2 separate regions of the Homo sapiens genome follow, and region 2 is linked to region 1. Evidence: promoter capture Hi-C in 16 types of primary human blood cells and fetal thymus (Javierre and others, 2016). All regions are on one chromosome and are shown on one strand. Each heading gives the region's core, a stretch centred on a gene start or on the middle of the fragment in contact. The rest is flanking DNA. Distances are from core to core; before and after follow the strand shown.

What was found. Contacts are between HindIII fragments. The CHiCAGO score rates a contact against its expected background, and 5 or more counts as called.
Region 2: a fragment that was not itself captured here is called in contact with the fragment with the promoter of ANKEF1 in region 1 in 1 of 17 cell types (total CD4 T cells); the score reaches 7.4 in total CD4 T cells.

Annotation. Positions count from the first base shown.
Region 1 is chr20:10,032,117-10,038,160 of GRCh38, forward strand. ANKEF1 (ankyrin repeat and EF-hand domain containing 1) reads left to right here and starts at 2,871. Exons shown (of 11, transcript NM_022096.6): 1 at 2,871-3,217; 2 at 3,463-3,526. The region is part of intron 3 of SNAP25-AS1 (SNAP25 antisense RNA 1); the gene reads right to left. RefSeq lists a silencer at 2,662-3,211. The HindIII fragment of the contact is 1,358 bases long and covers 2,279-3,636 here.
Region 2 is chr20:8,012,243-8,018,286 of GRCh38, forward strand. All of the region lies in intron 1 of TMX4 (thioredoxin related transmembrane protein 4), which reads right to left. Among named protein-coding and RNA genes, the nearest start is that of TMX4, 4.5 kb to the right of the region's middle. The HindIII fragment of the contact is 1,018 bases long and covers 2,536-3,553 here.

The DNA.
Region 1 (6,044 bases), core at 1,621-4,120:
CACTGGGGGAAGCCAGCTGGGCTCCTGAGTCTGGTGGGGACGTGGAGAACCTTTATGTCTAGCTCAGGGATTGTAAATACACCAATCGGCACTCCGTATCTAGCTCAAGGTTTGTAAACACACCAATCAGCACCCTGTGTCTAGCTTAGTGTTTGTGAACGCACCAAGCCACACTCTGTATCTAGCTACTCTGGTGGGGCTTTGGAGAACCTTTGTGTCCACACTCTGTAGCCAGCTAATCTGGTGGGGACATGGAGAACCTTTGGGTGTAGCTCAGGGATTGTAAACGCACCAATCAGCGCCCTGTCAAAACAGAGGACTCGGCTCTACCAATCAGCAGGATGTGGGTGGGGCCAGATAAGAGCATAAAAGCAGGCTGCCTGAGCCAGCAGTGGCAACCCGCTTGGGTTCCCTTCCACACTGTGGAAGGTTTGTTCTTTCACTGTTTGCAATAAATCTTGCTGCTGCTCACTCTTGGGGTCCACACTGCTTTTATGAGCTGTAACACTCACTGCGAAGGTCTGCAGCTTCACTCCTGAAGCCAGCGAGACCACGAGCCCACCAGGAGGAACCAACAACTCCAGAAGCGCCGCCTTAAGAGCTGTAACACTCACCGTGAAGGTCTGCAGCTTCACTCCTGAGCCAGCGAGACCACGAACCCACCAGAAGGAAGAAACTCCGAACACATCCGAACATCAGAAGGAACAAACTCCAGATGCGCCACATTAAGAGCTGTAACACTCACCGCGAGGGTCCCTGGCTTCATTCTTGAAGTCAGTGAGACCAAGAACCCACCAATTTTGGACACAGTTTGACAATAAATTTACACTCAAATATCTCTAAGGAATCAAACTTACAGATTAATAATTAGTAATCAGGTCACGTAAAGTAAATTATAAAAGAGCATTGATACCAAGATTGGCAGAAAGTTTTTTGTGTGACAAAACCAAGTTTTGGCTAAGATACACACTGCTGATGGGAGTCTAAATTGCTGTATATGTCGGGAAAACAAGTTGTCTTTATCTTGATGTTATAAATAACCTATGACCCAGAAATTTAACTCCTAGACATATACTCTAGTGAAACTCTTGAACGTGTGCGTCCAAAGACATTTATAAACATGATCTTAGTAGTATTGCTTTTAGTAGCAAATTCTGGAAACATCCCAAATGTCTATCAATAGTGGAATTGATTTGAAAGGGGTGTGGAATGGTAATATAATGGAATAGCCTACAGCTGTTTAGATAAAGGAACTCCAATTAAACATACCAACAAAGATACATTTCAAAAACAAGACGTTGAAAGGAAAAAAGTCATCAAAACAATACACAACATTCTACCACATTTTTATAAATTCTCAAAATATGCAATATTAAACATGCATTATTTAGGGAGGCATTCAATGTAGCAATGCATTTTTAAGAGGCTGGGATGATAAATGTAAAATTCAGAACAGGTATTATCTCTGGGAACAGGAAGAGGAGGATGCAGTGTTGGGAAGAAATACATATAAGTACAGCAGTAGAGGCAGACTTTTTTTTCCTTTTCCTTTTTCCTTTATTTTTCCTAGCTTTCTTTTTCTTTAGCTATGGTATTTCTTTAGCTATGGTATGGTATGGTATGTACTTTCCATATATCATACAGTATATTTTGGTGTGCATGAAATAGTCCTTAATAACATTTTTATTATTTTTTATTTGACGTTTAAGTTCAGGGGTACATGTGCAGATTTGTTATATAGGTAAACTTGTGTCATGTGGTTTTGTTGCACAAATTATTTTCTCACCCAGGTATTAAGATTAGTACCCATTAGTTATTTCTCTTGATCCTCTCCCTCCTCCCACTCTCCACCTTCTACCCTCCAATAGGCCCCAGTGTGTGCTGTTCCCCTCTATGTGTCCATGTGTTCTCATCACTTAGCTCTCACTCATAAGTGAGAACATGCAGTATTGGGTTTTCTGTTTCTGCGTTAGCTTGCCAAGGATAATTGCCTCCAGCTCCATATTCCTGCAAAAGACATAATTTTGTTCCTTTATATGGTTGCATAGTATTCCATGGTGTATATGTACCGCATTATCTTTAGCCAGTCTATCATTGATGAGCACTTAGGTTGATTCCATGTCTTCGCTCTTAACATTTTTAAACAGTCTCTGAGTAGAATAGGGTAGGCTGGTGTAAGGAATTACTGTTTTTAATTGGAAGCAATTACATACTGCATTAAAAAGCATATATATATAGACACACATATATATGTTTTACATTCACATAATCAAACCAAAGCTTTCAGAATTTTCCGCCAAAAAGCATGTGTGGAGGGAGAGAGAGGGGTGTTATGGTGCATTTGTAGGCCCTGAAATAAAGTGATCTCCATATTTGCTTCCATTTGTGTATAAATATTTTTTAAGCATATATGCATCCTAGAGTATGGAAAGAAAATTTCTGGGAAGATTTGCAAGAATCTGTGGCAGTTGAGAGTAGGTTCACTTTCGCTTTATTGTGTAATTTATTGTATTTTTCATTTAATTGTACTTTGTAAACTAAATATTTATTGTATATTTTACTTCATTTTTTAATTGCCATATGCAGCTTTAATTTTATAACTAAATTACGTTCTGACCCAGGGCAGGAGGTGGGAGAAGAGAATGAGAGAAGGGCGGAATCCTCAAGACAGCAGCATTCTGCGCTCCGCCCTGGAACACCCAGCGCAGCTACCCCATCCCGCCCAGGCCGGCCACCTGGCGTCGAAGCCAGGCGCGAGGGGCGGAGGCGGAGGCGGGGGCGGGGGCGGAGGCGGAGGCGGAGGCGGAGGCGGAGGCGGAGGCGGAGGCGGAGGCGGAGGCGAGCACCGCCCCACCGCGCACGCTGCGGTTGCCCCGGCAGCCGCGCCCTGCGTGGCGGAAGCTCACAATCAGCCCGGTCCCTCCGGCTTCCACCCCGCCCCCTGCGCTCACCTGCCCGCGCGCTCGCCTTCCGGGGACCCGGGGCCCATGGACACATACACCCAGCCCTGCTGTCCCGCGCGCCAGCTCACCAGCCCTACCCAAGGGACATCATTCACGCCTGGGCGCCTCCGCCGGGCTCCGGGAGCCCAAGGTCGCGGCTGGGCCAGCGCTGAGCGTCAGAGGACGAGAGCAGGGGCCTCCCCGGTCGCCCCAGCAGGCCCAGGCACATAGGTGCCCAGAGATCCCTGGCTTCTGATCGCCCGGAAGACTAAGAGGTGAGCATGACACATGGCTTTTCCTTTGACGTTACATCTCTACCCCCTCCACTCCTCTCTTCTCCAGATTTTTCTGGAGACTAAAAAGTGGAAAGCACAGTAGAGAACCCCCAACATGTAAACTATCGCTTACACTTGTGGGTGAGCTGAAACCCGCAAAAGTTTGGTGTATTCATAAGGAGCCTATATTGAAGGACTTTGCTAAATGTTTTACAAGGATCATATCTCATTTCCTTTTCACACAGTCCCATGAAGTGGGCACCATTGCTATTGCCAGTTCACAGATGCAGAAACTGAGGTAAAAACTAGGTAGGTAGCATATCCATATTTATATCCAACTAGTTTGTGTAAATAATGATACAGGGAAGGGAGGATCACAACGGATTTCCCCACCTCAAACCCTACATTCCACTGTACCAAGCTTGTCTTCCTCCATTCCTCTTTCTAATGATCCTTCCTTGTCGCACAGCCCCCCTTTGAGAGTTAAATGACCTGAACACACACAGATTCCCACAGATTTTCATGTAATTTCCGAGTATTCAGACCCCGAACATGGACCTCAAGTCAAGACATTCTGCTCTATTCCACTACCTTGGTAGATGGTTAGATGTGACTAAGGTGGCCCAGGGTCATGCTGGGGAAAAGTACAGGTGTGCTTGTATGTGGAGGATCCTATATGCTGCTCAATTTACAAGGAACCCAGGACCCAAGGGCTACACTTGTGTGATTTCCTGCAGTGGGGTGAGCTCTTGGTCAGTCTTAGCAGTTGATTGTGAAGGACACTATACAGGGTGCTGCCCTCTCCCCAGCACTTCAGGGCTTTAGCTGGGAGGGAGGCAGTCCACAGGAAACCGACCCATGGACCTACTGAATTCATCACTGTAGCTGCTAATTAATTCTCCGTTAGAGATGGGTGCTAACAGAGGCAACATTGAAGTCCCTGATTGGGAAATCCTTATTTTCACAAATCAAGTGGCATTGATTCAGTCTAATCATTACCTATGTAGGAGCATCTTGCCCTATTCCATAGATGACACATATACATATGCAGTATGATGACACCGCACCTAATCGGAATATGGCCGATAATAATAAAACAAGCCATAAATAGCAGCTAAGGTGAGTGTCACCAAGCCGTGCAGCAAAGTCCAAGTGGATGACTCTGAGGCAGCCTCAGTTGGTTCCCTAGTCCACCGCATGTTATAAACAGATTAAAAGGCAAAGGAGGCCTGGCCCGGTGGCTCACGCCTGTAGTCCCAACACTTTGGGAGGCTGAGGCGGGTGGATCACCTGAGGTCAAGAGTTCAAGATCAGCCTGGCCAACATGGTGAAACCCTGTCTTTACTAAAAATACAAAAATTAGCCAGGTGTGGTGGTGGGCACCTGTAATCCCAGCTACTCGGGAGGCTGAGGCAGGAGAATCGCTTGAACCCAGGAGGTGGAGGTTGCAGTGAGCCGAGATTGTGCCACTACACTCCAGCCTGGGTGACAGAGTGAGAGTTGGGCTGAGGGTCGAGGGTCATGGGATAGGGCGAGACACCAGGGGAGTGTGTGAGGACAGAAAAGAGTCTTGAGGACCTAGCCCTGGGCACCCAACATAGGCTTCTTGAAATGGGGAGTCAGCAAAGGAGCCTGAGCAGGAGGGGGCATTGGTGTTGGATGGAAGCAGGCGATGGAGATGTTGTGGTGCCTAGAGAGACACATTTAAAGGAGAGAGAGCTCACTGCCGTAGAGAATGTAGGTGAGGGAGCAGGCTTGCGATGGAGAAAAATGGTGCATAGTTTCAACTTTTGTAGTAAGATGGAATCTTTTCATTGCAAATGTTGGAAACTTAGCTAACTAGCTTATACCAAAATAAGGTGACGGGGGAGAAGATGTATTTACCCACAAAGTGGTAGATGGCTTCTGGCACCATGGAATCCATGTTGCAACTAATGCCATCAATCTCAGTCTCTCTCCATCCTCCAAGCATGGACTCTCTCTGTGGCACCCAAGAGAGCTACCTGCGCCCCAGCCCCACACCATACTGCTTAACAACTTCAGCAGAATAGTCTTCCCTCATAGTTCTGGATGATGGGCTGCTGATTGGTTGATGTCTTTTATGCACATATGCTTGAGCTTCAGTGTACCTGGAAAGGGATGGTTCCCTCAAATGGGCCAAGCCTAGGCCACAGACGCTTTCCTCTGGCAGGGGACAGAAGGGACAGCCCCATCCAAACGACCCGGATAGGATTCCCTATGTGATAATGGAGTTCTTTTCTCATAAGAAATGAAGAAACAACTGGTCATACCTAGCATGGCCTGCTACTCAATCCAAAAGATTTTCCGTACAAGGAGGTAAAATTACATACTAGAATGCCCATCACAATTTAACAGGGAGATTGTTTATGAAGATTTGCAGTTTCCTTGCAGCCATTTAACTACATCTTTTCCACTTAAGATGACATAGGAATCACTCATCACATCTCTGATATGTTACAGAGCCCAGTAGATTTGTTTATAATGAACACCTCAAAATTATATGTTTTTATAACACCTTAAAACTATTAAAACCTGCATGATCTCTCTATTTTGCTGGTGTGAAACCATGTAGATAGATGGTGGGAACTCAAACCCTTACCATGGCAATTTAGTTAACCTCAGCTTCTTCATGGTAAAATGGTAAAGTGTGATGAGGAGGGAAGGTTAAATGGATAATAAGAAAACCACCTGGCAAACTATTTTTAATTATGATGGAAGATTTGTTTGAACTGTTTTAACTTTATGCCCACTCAATATTTTTGATATTTATGTATAAATCCTACTTTCTGAACATTTCTTAAAAAAC
Region 2 (6,044 bases), core at 1,795-4,294, 2.0 Mb before region 1:
CCTCAGTTTCCTCAACTGTAAAATGGGATAATAACAGTAGCTACCTTAGGTTACTGAGAGATCAGATGAAATACGAAGCAGGCACATATTTATTTAATAGGAGCAACCATTAATACAAATTTCATTTGTAATACTGCTTGGGGTTCAAGACACTTTTACGATGCATTAGCTCATCTGACCTTACAGCCTCACTGCCAAACAGACAAAGCAGGTATAGAGATGTGCTTAAGACCACTCAGAGCAAGAACACAGATGGAGGTATTTCTTTGATAAAAATCGTCAAGGAATATAAAACTTCAACATTCAGAGGGAGAAAGAAGTTATAAGAAAGTAACAAGAATAAGGAAGTTATCTTGAAGTATAATATAATATAATGAACTTCAGATCCTCTTTATTTCCCTAGGACGCTCTTTGCATATAAATCACAGGCACATTTGCTGCATCAGTAATTATGTTTCATAATTTAAAAAATACAGGACTTAATCTCTAGATAGGCTATTACTAAGTTGGTTTTTGGTGAAACTGACCTTCAGATATACAATTATAATGCATCCTCGGATATGCCACTGAGGTAATTTTAGATATGCCATTTCTACATAGCTGCTATACACTGGTCTGTGGCATTGTTAATGCCATTATTTCACAGATTTAATCACAGCTGATTTGTGTTGGAATGCACCCAGATGTTCTTTCAGTGGTAGAGATAAGCCAGCTCTGAGTCTTTAGCATGGGAACTGGTCCATTGTTGCTGCAGTTTTTAAAGTTTTTAATATTCTTTTGTATCTAAAGAACAGTAATTTGTATAAGAATTTAGAAACTAAGTAAAATATCTCCAGGGACAAAATGAATGCAAGGATCAGTCATGTGACCTTCATGCTCCTCTCTCACTCTGTGTACACATAGATACATATATATATAATTTATGTATATATGCATAAATTAAACACATCAGAAATAATTGAACATGATCTTCATTAAATTTATTTCAAACTAGTTCACACTGGCAATCTTCTCCTAAGAACTATAAAAGATATGACCTGCCATAACTTTGTCTCTTACACATAATCCTTAAGAGCCTCCAAGAGCAATTAGCTCCATTATAGTCATTTAAACTGTAAATTGTTATCTTTTCTACTGAACTTTTGTTGACTTGTTTGCAGGTCACAGTGGTATGTAAAATTAGTAAACTTCATAAACATATTTGAAATATATTCCAGATAGCCAAAAAGCTCTGGTAAATTACACCAACTTACATGTCAGTGCAATGTTTTTAACCATTTCTGGGAAACAAAATTCAACAGCATGTTTTTGTTGTCCACGTTTTTTGTTCAACAGAATGTTTTTGTTGTCCATGTTGTCCGTGTTTTGTTGATGGAACGAGGTTGAAGGACCTTGAATCTTTTATTCCATGAACTTACTGAATTTGGTTTAAGATTTCATTAGGTGTGCTAAATATTTCAGAGAAGGACTTACTTATATTTATTTCCTAGAAAGGAAATTTTATTAACGATAAATTTTTATTTACCAATAATGAACAACTCTTCTTCTGTCTTGACTCTAATTTCACCAGTGTTTCTCAGTACACTCTCTTTTCTCCTGACTTTTTCTTATCTTTGCAGAAATGAGACAGTCAATAACAGATCCAGTCAATTTTCACTTAGTAGAACTTTGATCAAAATGCTCAGAATACTCAGCAACAATGAAGAGGAAAGAGGTATACTAGGTTCATCTTTCTATGACTTAATAAAGGAAACTAAATCAAAGTGTCAACAAAAGATGCCTTAACTACATCAAGTGTTATTCTTCCTTTTGGCAAATGTGGAATGACCCATGAATTGAAAGCCTTATGCTCAAATTTATTTCTTTGGACAATAATTTCTAGAACGTGTTATCACAAAAGGTAGAGGAAACATAAAAACTGGCAGCTCTATGAAAATCATGACACCTGCTAGAGAAAGTGGAATTCATGACTTTCACTAGAATTAACACTCCACGAAAGCAGTGACTGCTGCATGACTTGCACCACAGAACAGAACCTGGAAGGTCCTAGGCCACCACAATAAATATTCCATCAGTGAACAAATGGGAGATGATAGTAATTATCCTTAAGACTTCAGAAAATATATAAAGATGTCTCCTTCAGTGATATGCTTGAAGAAGTGCCTGATAAAAGAGCAATTAATCTATTATTCACTCATTTACCTAGTCACAAAGTATTTTTTGAACACAAACTACTTGTTAGTTATTAAAGCTTTGGAGATAAACAGGGAAGGAAAAAAATAACCTTGTTCCTTTACTTAAAAGCTTATAATAGAGGTAGTCAAAGAAAGACCTAGTACAAAAGCATATCAATAAATGTGTAATTACTGGTTGTGATAGGACCATGCAAGACACAACCAAAGCATAGTGAGAAAGAATTTTCCTGGGGCATTGCGATGATGGGAAGGCAGGGCACCTGTTTAAGTGGTGAACAGTGTCAGGAATGAGTATACAGTAAAAATGTTCTTTACTTGCAGAAACTAGAGAGATGGTAAAAGCTTGGATGGGCCTTAGAATCCAGCACGAACAAGGCCTACCCTCATGTGAGTCAGGGTGCTGGCTAGCTGAGGGCCAAAGCAAGAGTCAACCAGGCCCTGTGCCTTCCTCCAGGCTCCCCAGGAGAACTGGGAACTGCAGATCAGAAACTGCAAAGCTCAGGCCTGCATTATAGTTATGGCCTTGCTCCCCACTTACTAAGGATCTGGCATTAGCCAGCTTCTTTTTTTCTTTTTTTTTTTTTTATCTCCACTAGTCAGTAAGAATGGGAATAATACCGCACTAGATTGCTGGAATGATCAAATAAAACAGTTAGTTGGAACATGTGATGTAAGCCATGTAACTATGAACTGTGATTGTGATGATGAGGAAGTGGAGGAGGTGGATGGAAGTGGTAAGGATGACAAGTTTTAATGAGGCTTTAAACCCTTTGTGGAAACCATCTAAAATCAAACATTCGCATGTTTTTAAATACCCATAACAGTATCTAGAGCAGTGGTTTTCAATTAGAAGCATTTGGAAGTATGCACAGGGAATGGGAGTTACAATTTTTTGATGTCGCATGACTGAGACTACTACTAGAATATAATGGGCAAGTATGCCAAAGGTTCTGCAACACGTGGGCCATTCCCACACACCAAAGAACTGTCCACCCAAAATGCCAATAGTGTCCTGTTGGGAAGCACTGATGAATGTCCAACACAGAGGAAGCATTCATTAAACATTTACTAAATAAATGAACATAACTTATACTACATATTTCCTTCAGAGCACAATCTCTTGGAAGGCTCATTCTTCTTCACCTTCCCAGCTCCCCAACACTGAACCTGACACACAAGCATTTAGTGAGTTGTCTCTCAAACATTCCATCAAGACATCAAGACAATCTATTAAACTGCAAGAAATTCTAACTTGACATGGGCAAGTTAAGGTAATGATGTTCAACACATTCTCTCCAGGTATAAAGGAAGGCTGGAAAGATAATACTAAAACCTAGATGTCCTATGGAAATAAACAAAGCTTTGCTCCATCACCAGGTGTTTAATTTAAATTTTGAAACATGATCATTCCAAAAACAAAAATAAGAAAAGGCAATAATTTATAAAGATTTATATGCTTTACAGAGGTAAACTAACCCAAAGACATACTTTTCTTCTGAGTATCAGCTTGAATGTCAAAATTAAGCCACTTGGCTATCTATTTCTTCTGGGGGAAAAAGCCACCAGAATGTATCATATTACATACTTCCATGTTTCAAAAGAACAAAAGTCATTTTCTCCAGGACTGACATAATGAGAGCCAAGCAAATGTTGAAAGTAGCAAAAGGTTGCAAAGGAACTGAATGAAGAATAGTATAAAACAATGGCAATAGAGAAAAGCATGCATCATACAGTAGTTTAAAGATTAGATCATTTTTCCTAATTCAGAAAAAGGGCAAACGAGTATACAATAAGCCCATAGCCGGGTGCCTGTATTCCCAGCTACTTGGGAGGCTGAGGCAGGAGAATTGCTTGAGCCCGGGAGGCAGAGGGTACACTGAGCTGAAATCGCACCACTGCGCTCCAGCCTGGGCGACAAAGTGAGACTCCATCTAAAAAATAATAATAACAACAATAAGCCCATAGCATTAAAGAAAATGTATGTAGCAATGGGAGAACTTTTCAGATTTCTAAAATCATCAGAATAGAAACGGTGAATTACTGCAAATATACTTTTAACTCATACATTTTTAAAACACTGGAAATTCAATTGCAAGAATCCAAAAAATTGACTGTTTGAAAGACTAAGAAAAAATAACCAAATTTAATTTCATAATAGAAGCTTTTCATGTCTCAGGGCTGCCAAATACTGCTAGATTCTTAAGAATAAATTATCTATACCAATATAACCAGAAACTGCATTAGAGGGGATCTGTATGACGTGGCGTATAAAAGAAAAAATTCCCAGATGAAAGAGCGCATATAAGCAAATGAACAAATAAAGAACTCTCATTCAAAGTAATGAATACATTTTGATATCGGAAAGCTTCTCAATCTGTGTCTTTAAAGAAGTTAACTACAACAAAAGCTTCTCAATCTGTTTCTTTAAAGAAGTTAACTACAACATCTTTGAACTACTAACAATTTCCATTTATGTATGACCAGCTCATCTGAACTAAGTGTCAAGATGAAGCTAATTTTAATGCATTTTGTTTTTCTCTGTTATATACATAAAAAAAAAAATCTGGTAACGTATAGGCTATTTAAATGAATTCTTAGAAATTCATAGCAGGCCTCTAGTGGTATGGAGGATATAATGAATTTTATATTTTTTTAAGTACTGGAGTTTTTTTCACAGCAAGGAGGAGGAGTATCACCTGATAATACAGAAAAAAATAGATCACAAATAGATAAGAACCAAAATATTTCTTCAGGATGAGCACTTGGGTTTTAGTGCGTATAAAGAAGTTGGATGGAATGGTTTGGATCAATTTTCATTGACAGCCTTGCTTCCTAGCCACCTATTCTGAAGTGCACTCGATAAAAAGAGAATGTCTACTAAAATGACCTTGTGTCTACACAGCTTACTTCCAGATTACAAGACTCATCTGGCATCACAGGCCAAGCATATTCCATACAACTGGACACATGACAAACTCAGAGCAATTGATTACTATGTTTAGGTTTATACATTCATAAAAAAGTAAAATTTGAACCATCAACATGGCCAAGCACAGATGTTGTTGGCTCTCCCTCAAAAACTTATTGAGGCTTTAGTGTTCTTAATTCTATTACCAAAAAAAAAGCAATTCCAAAAGGAACCATAGAGGAGTTGAAGTCATTAAAAATGAGGAGGCCTTTCTGTTTTAACTTTTCTTACATACATATGCAAACTCAGTTTTACCCTGAAAGATGACATCTAGGAAAAAGTCCATTTTGTAAGCACCTACTGAAAAGAGAACTTTCTGTAGTATTGGCTGACAAAATGCAGTTTATCCCAAACTCTTAAAATTATTACAAACATGGAAGTCTTAACACAGCTCCACTTATTTTAAAAGTTTCTCAAATAGAATATGACCCCCTCACCTTCTTCCAAAAATAGTTAAGTGGAATATTTTAATAATTCATGTCTACAGTTCCCTTTAATAATTTCATTGATTTATTATGATACCAAGGGTATTTCATTTGGAGGTCTAAAATATCCCCTTCTTTGTGACTAAGAGGTAAATGCACATTTGAAGGGGTGATATGCCTTATGTTCTTCGAGCAATGTAATCTGCTGTGTGACATAAATTTTGGCTCTGATCTCACACTGAGGTTTTCACTCCATAGGCACCTGCTTGCAATTTAAATTGAAAGAATCAAAACTTGGTCTTGGATAAAGGAAAGATCCAATTTTCTGTCTGTGTCCTCAACGTAAAACAAAGATTCAATAGTAGTATACAGATTGCCAGAAACCACAGGCTAAAGAGATGTGGCAATTTCCTGAAAGATTTTATGTTTGGGGGGTGGGGGCGGGAGGGGGGCAGG